Linked DNA regions of Homo sapiens: region 1 is linked to region 2. The links are contacts of gene promoters, found by promoter capture Hi-C in blood cells and fetal thymus (Javierre and others, 2016). All regions are on one chromosome and are shown on one strand. Each heading gives the region's core, a stretch centred on a gene start or on the middle of the fragment in contact. The rest is flanking DNA. Distances are from core to core; before and after follow the strand shown. Region 1 overlaps YTHDF3-DT (YTHDF3 divergent transcript). Region 2 holds the start of BPNT2 (3'(2'), 5'-bisphosphate nucleotidase 2).

Region 1 (4,658 bases), core at 2,114-4,613, 6.2 Mb after region 2:
GCCTTAAGAGCTGTAACACTCATCGCGAAGGTCTGCCGCTTCGCTCCTGAGCCAGTGAGACCACGAACCCACCAGAAGGAAGAAACTCCGAACACATCTGAACATCAGAAGGGACAGACTCCAGACGCGCCACCTTAAGAGCTGTAACACTCGCTGCGAGGGTCCGCGGCTTCATTTTTGAAGACAGTGAGACCAAGAACCCACCAATTCCAGACACACCACCACCACTGTCGGCTTTTTTTTTTTTTTTTTTTTAATACATGGACTTTTGGTCCAACCCTAGAGCTTCTGATTCTGTAAATAAGGGCTGAGTCCTGAGAATCTGCATTTGAATAAGTTCCTAGGAGATGTTGCTGCTAGTCCCAAGGAAACAGTTTGAAGAAATTGCTTTAAGCAAATCTTAAGGTTATTTGATGTTTTCTGCTGCCTTTTTCTTACCATTGTAAATTTCTCTGCAGTAAACTTAAGAATAAATGGAAAAGTTTTGGCTTTTCTGTTTCAAAGCAGATTGATTGACTGATTTTTTACTTTATTCAGTGTCCTTCTTAGCTATTAGTGGTTTTACCTTATGCATGATATTTAAGAATACCTCCTTTTAAAAGTGCATCGATCAATCCTCAAGCTGAATTCTCTACACTTCGTTCATGTACTATATATGTTACTTAAAGATAACAGAAAGCCTTATAAATTTTGGCTTAAACACTGGTAAAATTCAAAGATAAGTTTAAGTGCTGCTAGTTAACAAAGCAAATCCAGGAAATTACTAGGCACAGAGTTTATTACTAAGTATCCCCCCACCCATTCTCCCCCTCTTCCTTAGTAATAAACATCCTCATTTTTAACTGAACACATGGCCACTCAGAATATATTTTCCAGCTTTCACTTAACTTTAAATACTTGTAGGAAACTATGTTTTAGTTAGTAGAAAGTAGCCAGAAATGTTAATATAGTTTGGATGTTTGTCCCCTCCAAATTTCACAATTAAATGTAATCCCCAGCCGGGTGCGGTGGCTCAAGCCTGTAATCCCAGCACTTTGGGAGGCCGAGGCGGGCGGATCACAAGGTCAGGAGATCGAGACCATCCTGGCTAACACGGTGAAACCCCGTCTCTACTAAAAATATGAAAAATTAGCTGGGCGTGGTGGCAGGATCCTGTAGTCCCAGCTACTTGGGAGGCTGAGGCAGGAGAATGGTGTGAACCTGGGAGGCGGAGCTTACAGTGAGCCGAGATCGTGCCACTGCACTCCAGCCTGGGCGACAGAGCAAGACTCCATCTCAAAAAAAAAAAAAAAAAAAGTAATCCCCAATGTTGAGGGTGGAGAGGCATTTGGATCACTGGGGCAGATCCTTCATGAATGGTTTAGCACCATCCCCTTGGTGATGATTGAGTTCTTTCTCTGAGTTCACAGAAGATCTGGTTGTTTAAAAGTGTGTGTCACCTCCCCCATCTCACTCTTGCATCCATTCTCGTCATGTGTAAGCTAGCTCCCCCTTTGCCTTCTGCCATGATTGCAAGCTTTCTGAGGCCTCATCAGAAGCCAAGCAGATGCTGGACCATGCTTCCTGAATAGCCTGCAGAACAGTAAGTCAATGAAACCTCTTTTCTTTATAAATTTCCCAGTCTCGGGTATTCCTCTGTAGCGATGCAAAAACAGACTAATACAAATGGGAAAAATGCAATTTCTACAAAATGTCCTTAAAGGAGAACAATGTGCTTTCTTAACCTTGTTTTTCTGCTGGTGGGAATGTGATTAGGATGGCTGGAAGTTGAGCAGCCATCATGGGCCACAGGTAGAGGTATCATAATGAGGATTGTTAGATATGAGTTCTAAATTTCTTTTCAAAGAATCAATATGTCAGTATGTTCAATTCTTTGCCTTTTACTTTTAAACTTAACTTCCTCATAAAGCAACCTTTTTCGATTACCTGCTCCATCCTGACTCATTCTGATTACCTACTCCACCCTGACTCATTCCAATTACCTGCTCTGTCATAACCATTTTTCCCGCCAAACCACTCACCCTGTCAGTCTCTTTAAGTTAGCCAGTCAGAATTAGTTTAGCCTGTGCGGTCTAACCCTAGCCAATAGGGGAACAACACAGCAGAAGGGGCCACATGCGTCAGGGATAGAACCCCTTCCCTTCCCTTGTCTAAGTCTGTGCTCACCGTTGTTCCATCTGTAAGGGTGCACCCTTCTGTAGAAGTAACTTGCCTTGCTGAGAATTAAAAAGTAAATTCTATATTCGAGTGCTACTTCTTTTGTGGCAACAAAACTTTATTTATAACAGGATGGTGGAACAACAGACTAGAAGAAGCCTGGATTATCTGATACAATGGCAACCCAAGTCCTGGAGTATATCCAGACTGCTGTTGTATGAGAAAAACAGATTTCTATCTTCGGCTCCTGTTATTTTGAACTTGATACCACTTGTAGCTGAACCTAATTTGAACTGATACAAGTAATCATACAGAAGTTACAGTTGTGCAGACTGGAACTTCACTGTCTGTAATTTCAGCACTTTGGGAGGCCAAGGTGGGAGGATCCCTTGAGCCCAGGAGTTGGAGACCAGCCTGGGCAACATAGCAAGAACATGTTGCTATAATTAAACAACAAAACAACAAATAACAACAACACACGCACACACAAACACCAAAGTTGGCTGAGGGAAAAATGGGGCCTTAAATCCAGCCTGCCCTCTCCTTTCCAAGCTTTGCACTGTGCTGTGTGCTCCAGGAGACTGACACACCCTAGTGGCTCTTTAGAAGAGTGCATTTTTACCTAGAAACTAGGCTCTGTGGCAACATTTTTCAAAATATCCTCTCCATTCTCCTTGCCCAAGACCATGGGAACCCATCTCTTGCATCATCATGACATGGATGTGAGACCTGGAGTCAAAGGGGATCATTTTGGAGCTTTAAAATTTGAGTGCCCTTTGCATGGGCCCTGTAACCCCTTTGTTTTGGCCAATTTCTCCCATTTGGAATGGCTGTATTTACCCAATATCTGTACCCCCTTTGTATCTACGAAGTAGCTGGCTTGCTTTTTATTTTACAGGCTCATAGGCGAAAGGGACTTGCCTTGTCTCAGATGAGACTTTGGACTGTAGACTTTTGGGTTAATGCTGAAATGAGTTAAGACTTTGGGGTACTGTTGGGAAGGCATGATTGGTTTTGAAATGTAAGAAATGAGATTTGGAGGGGCCAGGGCAGAATGATATAGTTTGGCTATGTCCTCACCCAAATCTCAACTTGAATTTATCTCCCAGAATTCCCACGTGTTGTGGGAGGGACCCAGGGGGAGGTAATTGAATCATGGGGACCGGTATTTCCCATGCTAATCTCATTATAGTGAATTAAGTCTCATGAGATCTGATAGGTTTATCGGGGTTTCCCACTTTTGCTTCTTCCTCATTTTCTCCTGCTGCCCTCCATGTAAGAAGTGGCTTTTGCCTCCTGCCGTGATTCTGAGGCCTCCCCAGCCATGTGGAACTTTAAACACAATTTAACCCCTCTTTCTCTTCTCAGTCTCGGGTATGTCTTTATCAGCAGCATGAAAACGGACTAATACACTCCTGGAGGCATTGGAGATGGTTTCAGGTAGTCCCCAGATGTACTTCAAAAGTCTGTTAATATTAAATTAAGTAGGTTTATATCTGAGGGTAGGTATTATTGCTAGGAAGAAAAGCCATAAAGAAAGAAGTTTGTTGAGCAAAAATGAAAGAGAATAGAAGCTCATAATATTATGTCATTAGGCAGTATTATATGGTAGTTATTAGAGTGGGAACTTGGGAGTCACACTGCTTGAGTTCAAATCCTGGCTCTCATAGTGACTAGCTGTGTTGTTTGTGGCGTGTTTCCTAACCTCACTGTGTCAGTTTTTATAATGGCACTTCTGCAAGGATGCTGTGGGAATTAACATGACATATAATGTGTTCTCAATAAATGTAAGCGATTACTATTTCCGGGAATCTTTTAGCGAAGGAACAATTCATTACCTGTATATAGCCACAATTTGCTGAAAGCTTACTTTTGTGTCAGGAACTGTACACGAAGGACCTAATTTTACTCATGAGGAAGCTAAAGCTTAGAAAGTTTCAGTGCCTTTACCAAGATTATAACACTAATTCTTGCTCCACTAGAATTTAAATTCGAATTGATTGGGTTCCAAAGCCATGATACTAAGGATCAAAGACAAGGCTTGCAAGATTTAAGCCTCCTCTTGTATATTCTCTCTCAAGTTCCTGGCTCATAGCATGTACCAGCAAACTCATTAAAACTAAAACGGTCTGTTTGGGAGTGAAGGATGGGAGACATTGAGAGCAACAGCAGAAAGGGTTGGGGGAGTCTTGGGAAATGCAAGGGTGCTTAGGTTGGGACCCGTGGCAATGAATGGAAGGGCAAGGGAAACTGTCTAACCAGAACTTAAAAATGCCTCTTGGTGATTTACATGAAAAGTGGCCTCTCAAGTTTTTCTATTATTCAGTGCTTCTAAGATACTGTTGCACTGTAAACCACAAAATTAATCTTATGATTCTACAATTTTACTTTCTAAATGATCACTTATTTGATGGTTTTTGAAGTACAGAAAGTATTTGGTCATTTAAATTATTTCCTTCCATGGACTCTGTATCACTGAGACAAGGAATCTTTGCCTTTAT
Region 2 (5,417 bases), core at 2,673-5,172:
TGTCTACACCAATTACTAGTTATTCTGATTTTACAGAAGAGGAAACTATGGCTCAAAAAAGTTAAATGACTGGCCAGTACCACCTAGGCTGGTGACTGCACAACATGTCAATGCAAGTGCTCTGTGCACTATATTAGTGCTTCTCAAACTTTTCTGGGACATACTTCTGTTGAAAGAGAGAAGCTTAACTTCCATCTTATAGGTCAAGGAAGGCACAGACCCAAGTGGCTGCTACCAGCTTGGAGTACCATGCTTTACCTTCAAATAAGTCATTGTCAAAACTTTGAACAAATCAAGTTGAGGACAGGAGCCCCTCAAACAGACAGTCCCCTGTACATTAAATCAAAACTATAAATCTCAGTTTGTCTGTTCTGTGGCTGCAAACCCACTCCACAAAAGTATCTTCAGCCTTCATTTTCATTGTTACCTGCAAGGATAAAGAGACAGTGCCATACAAATGGCTGGAGTTACTATTACTTTGACACAATGAAGTCAAGCATTGCCAAAGTGTTTAGGAAGAGGAGACTAGCTGCCCAGAGGACTCTCTGGGATCTCTAACCTGAAGAAAACTGAAGACAAAAGGAAATCCAGGGAGCCTAGGTGAAATCTGAGTTTTGTTAGGATAGCACTCACTTCTCTGGAGTATGATTCCTCAACTTGGGCATCAATTGACAAATGGAGCAGATAATTCTTCGTCATAGGGGGCTGTCCTGTGCATTATAGGATGTTTACCCTCTACCTACTAGATGCCAGTAGCATCCCACCCCTGGTTGTGACAATCAAAAATGTCTTCCGACGTTGTCAAATGTCAGTTAGGGGACAAAACTGTCTCCAGTTGAGTGCTCTAGGATAACCCCTGGTATATCCTTTTACTGAGGAGTGAACATTACATACGAAAGCTCAGACTTCAGACTCTACATAGGAAAGTAGTGGGAGAAAACAGATCTTTCTACATTTACATAGGGCACTAGGATAAAAGAAAGAAGTATCTGTTGCTTCTCAATGGTCTTTTTCCACTAGGAAGTAAACTAAGTGGGATATAATTTAAGTTTCTTACCAAGAAATTTGGGGTGAGGCTTCAAAATTAACCAGGGATTTAAGACTGTACTTCTGGGCATTAGGAGAGGGGAAGGCAAAAAAGGAGAAAGACTCCTTTTAGGTTGATTCTCCACTTAGTTGGCTACAATATTTGGCCTCTAGCCTATAACACAGGGGTATAAGGAGATCGCTCAACATGACACCATCCCTACTTTGACACTGTATAAATGATCACAAACCTCTTCTATTCCTTCAGTCATGACCCAACATGAATACTACAGAAGCACATGCAAACATTCAAATAGTCACAAGAAAACAAGAAGTTGTTTTATATTAAGCCAGAGACTTCAACATCTGCAATTCCAAAAGCTTAGCTTTTATGTTAATAAAATGCAGCTCACTGCCCTTGGCAGCCATTCCCTTATTGTTTGCTAATAAATGAGAATGCACACACATACAGATGTGTTTTCAACATTTAAGATACTTTTGTTTTTACTTAAAAAAAGAAAAATCAACTCTGCTTGCTGTATTTCACTATTACTGCTTTTAAGCTTCTACAATTATAAGTTTTAAATAGCCTTCTAAAAATCTAGCTAAAATGTGGGATAGTTCATATAAGCTGGAGTGTCACGAGCCTCAGATTTCCCGTTTGTATAGTAGGCAGAAATAAAATTTACTTCTTAAAGTTGCTGTTAAGGATCAAATGAAGTCCTGTGTAGCCAGTATTTGGGCATGTAAAATATATTCAATAAATGGTTATTATTAGTACTGTTATAACCATTAAATAGCAACTTCTCTGAATCTCCTGTTTCCTCTATAAATTCTTGGGGAAGGAAACACGTATGTTTTGGAAAGGGGGTAAAATATTTCATAAACACACCTTACATCTAGATGCAAAAAAATTTAAGTATTATTTGTGATGATAAAAACAGAGTAGGGAAGAAGAAAAAGTGGAAATATTCTGTGTTTTAAGTAGAAATTTGAAAAAAAAAATTCTAACGTTAATTACATCTGGTATCCAGTAGCTCATGTTAGGAAATACAATGTTCCTTTCCACTGGAAAAAGAAAAAGACGAAAGAAAAGGGAGGAAGAGAGGAGAATAAAAAACAAAACCAAAGCAATATTATGATAGACTGGAAGAAGCCTTATGCAAAATACATAACTAAACAATGACAATATTCTCCTAACTCTTTCAAGATCAGCAGTAAAAGGTCAGTCACCTTCCAAAGAAGCCTGGGTTTGCACATCACTGTTTATCTAATAAAATTCCAGTGAAGACAATTTTTCTTCCCAGTAGCCAAAACTACAGTTAGGTGAGTTAAGATATACGTTAATAAGGTGCTGCTACGCTATGCTGAGCTCTTCCTCAACAAAATTTGCAGTTTCTGGAACTGCAAATTTTAAATATGCTTTATTCAACTCAATAGCAGCTCCAGTGAAATGATGAATTCAAAAAGTATTAATAACAAATCCAAAATGTCTGGATTTCCTTAAGAAAATGTCAACTCCCTTCCCAGAAACCTACCCAAAGAAAAGCCAAATGTTATTTAATTCTTATTCTCTGGAGTAAATATGGATCTTTAATCAAGGGCCAGGTAGGACCAACAGCTGGTATATTTCTAAGTACCTCCTTAAAGGGCCCGCAAACTATAAACTTTAGAGCGTCCTGACAAAAAGACAGCGAAATGAGCATACTCATCCCCCACCCCCCCACCCCGACTCCCGCGAGCGCACACACGCACACACAAATGCCCCGCACACTAACAGCTCTGCAACAAGACTCGGTCTTTCAGCTGGCTACTGGCAGGCCACCCAGAAAATGTGTACTCCAGTTTCGACCCTTCTAGGGATGAAATCAAGGAAGGATAGAGAGTCTTGGTGGATTTTAGCCAACCCCTTAATTCTACAGAGGAGCCTGAAGCTGCGGGTGCAATTAACTTTGTCAGCCTTTTCGTTTCAAGGCCTTCTGATCCCAGGTACACACGGCGCACACCCGACCCAGGACGAGCCAAAAGGGCACGGGCCCTGAGTCAGACTACGTGCAACCTCACCCAGCTCCTCTGCTGTCTGTCTGACCTTGTGCACGTTAACTTCTGCGTCTCAATTTCCACATCTACAAAATGGAACCAGAAGCTCCACATCCCATACTGTTAAGAGTCGACGGGCCGAGACGCGCTACCCGGCTCGAGTGGGCGCTCCGCCCGTGGGCTCCCACCTGGACGCTGGGGAAGGCGGTCTTGAGCAGGTAGAACATCTTGCGGTTGGACAGCACGTCGCCGCTGGTCATCTTGTCCTCGGCTCCCTCGCGCGTCTTCCCCTTGGACTTCTCGTGGAGGACGTTGCTCTCGCGGACGCGCCTCACCTCGTCGCCGCCGCGGACTGCGGCCAGCACTGACACAGCCAGCATCTCGCGCAAGTCCACGGTGCCCCCATCGGCCGCGGCCGCGGGCCCCGCCGCGCCGCCGCCAGGCTCGCCGCCCAGGCCGAAGAGGCTGAAGCGGCCGGCCAAGAAGCCCGAGTAGAGGTGGTAGAGCACGCCGAGCCCCAGCAGGCAAAACACTGCCACCCCCAGTGGGGAAAGGCGGATGCCCATGGGGGCCATGGCGTGGGAAGCCGGGCGCTCCGGGCTGCGGCTCTCACAGGCCTCCAGCGCCCGCCGCCGCCGCCGCCGCAGCCGCCGCGCTCCGGGCCAGGCGCCGCGCGGGCTACACTGGCGCCCGCTCCCCGGCCCCGGTGCGCCCCATCACTCCCTCCCAGGAAAGGCCGAGTTGCGCCGCGAAGACCACCAACGCCGCCCCGCGCGCCTGACTCGCCAGGCAGCGCGCTCTAGGTTCTTCCGCCGGCCGGCTGGTCCGACTTCCACGTTAGCCTACGGCCGCGAGGTGAAAGGGGAGCGTGGGTGTGTATCCGGGTTACGCGACGGGGCGGGGCGAGGGCGAGGGCGAGGGGCGGGGAGAGCTGGGCACCTCCCCTTGGGGCGGGGCGGGGCGGGACAGGAGGCGCTGGACTGAGCTGCCTTCCTTGGTCTGGGTGGGAAGGTATTCCTGGAAGTGGCGAGCAGCAATCCGCACAGGACAGTGTGCTGTGCTGAGTGCCTTGTGGGTGTTTAAATTAAATATCCCATTGTACGACTATGGCTGGCTGTAATAAACCCACAGTAACAGTCTAGTCTTCTCATCACTCTCAGATTATTGAGGAATGGAGGAAAACACAATAAACCATTTTAAAAGATTGATTTGCAAGCTTTTTTAGCCAGCGGGGGTGTAGACAGCCTGTACCTTTAAGTCGCTTCTCCGCGCTCTTCCCGGCAGGACGGGGAACTGGGCGGTGAGGGGAAGAATTGTACTTGGCTCTTCATTCTGTTGACATCTTTGTCGTGCCCTAAATGCTTATGTGTGTATAGAGTTTCTCTCCTCCACCTGCCAGAATAAACCATCCTCGAAGCAGCTGAAAAACATGCCTTGATCCGGGTTTTTCATAATGAAAGAAAGCAAACCAGGCTTCTCTCATTTCCAAGGGTACTCGAGCCTGGCTCTCCTACCAGAGCTTAAGAAGAGGAATTGCTTGACAGAGTCCACTTAAAATAGAGGTTATCCGGAGATGGTCAGTCTAGAACATGTAATCTTTGAGTCAGCGTAGGCTCTCGAAGTATTTTGACAGAAATAACTACCTTCTACTATAACACCGATCTTAGCTAGAATGATAGTGAATACTTTATAAGTATTCATGAGTTTATCTTTAATCTTAAAAGTGAATATTAAGATGTATAGTATTGTTCTTAAATGTTAAAATATCTATATAAATCAACTTAAAATGTAGCCTGTTTTACTGTTCATAGCAAAACAGCATTGGTTTTAAGTGGACTTTAGAATTAACCACCTGAAAAACTGCAAGTATACCAAACTTCTAAACATCCATTGCTAAGCAAGTCATGTAGAGCCTGACCTTTACCGCTTACTTAGAGTTCAGGGCATCCCTAGAATTTGCATGTGATTATACACATACAACAAAAGCACTGCCAGATTATACACATACAACAAAAGCACTGTGATTTCCCTGCCAGAATCACAGCACAAAATCAAGTACAAATACAAATCAGTGAAAGAACAATCCCTAGAGTATTGACAGCACCAGAACTTAAAGAACTAGCATTGCCTTTCTTGTCAGCTTTTGAGAGTAACTTTGCAATGAAGCAAAGCTGCTTTCAAATATCTAAAAGTGAATGTCACAGAGTAATTCTCAAAACCCATCCCAGGGATAAAGATAAACATCAGGGTTGAAATATAAAGGTTTAAGTTAAACAGAACCACCCCAACCTACACTATGACAGCAGCAAAAAGATGAGTTGGATAGTAATCATGTCAATATTAAAAGCATC

Evidence for each region. The method cuts DNA at HindIII sites, captures the fragments that hold promoters and counts their contacts. A CHiCAGO score of 5 or more calls a contact.
Region 1: a contact is called between a fragment that was not itself captured here and the fragment with the promoter of BPNT2 in region 2, in 3 of 17 cell types (non-activated CD4 T cells, naive CD8 T cells and total CD8 T cells). The highest score is 13.1, in non-activated CD4 T cells.

What each region holds. Positions count from the first base shown.
Region 1 is chr8:63,163,096-63,167,753 of GRCh38, forward strand. YTHDF3-DT (YTHDF3 divergent transcript) reads right to left here. Exons shown (of 1, transcript NR_102684.1): 1 at 4,630-4,658. Among named protein-coding and RNA genes, the nearest start is that of YTHDF3-DT, 3.0 kb to the right of the region's middle. The HindIII fragment of the contact is 1,313 bases long and covers 2,708-4,020 here.
Region 2 is chr8:56,989,945-56,995,361 of GRCh38, forward strand. BPNT2 (3'(2'), 5'-bisphosphate nucleotidase 2) reads right to left here and starts at 3,923. Exons shown (of 5, transcript NM_017813.5): 1 at 3,255-3,923. The coding sequence starts at 3,641. RefSeq lists a silencer at 3,480-4,039. The HindIII fragment of the contact is 2,693 bases long and covers 1,588-4,280 here.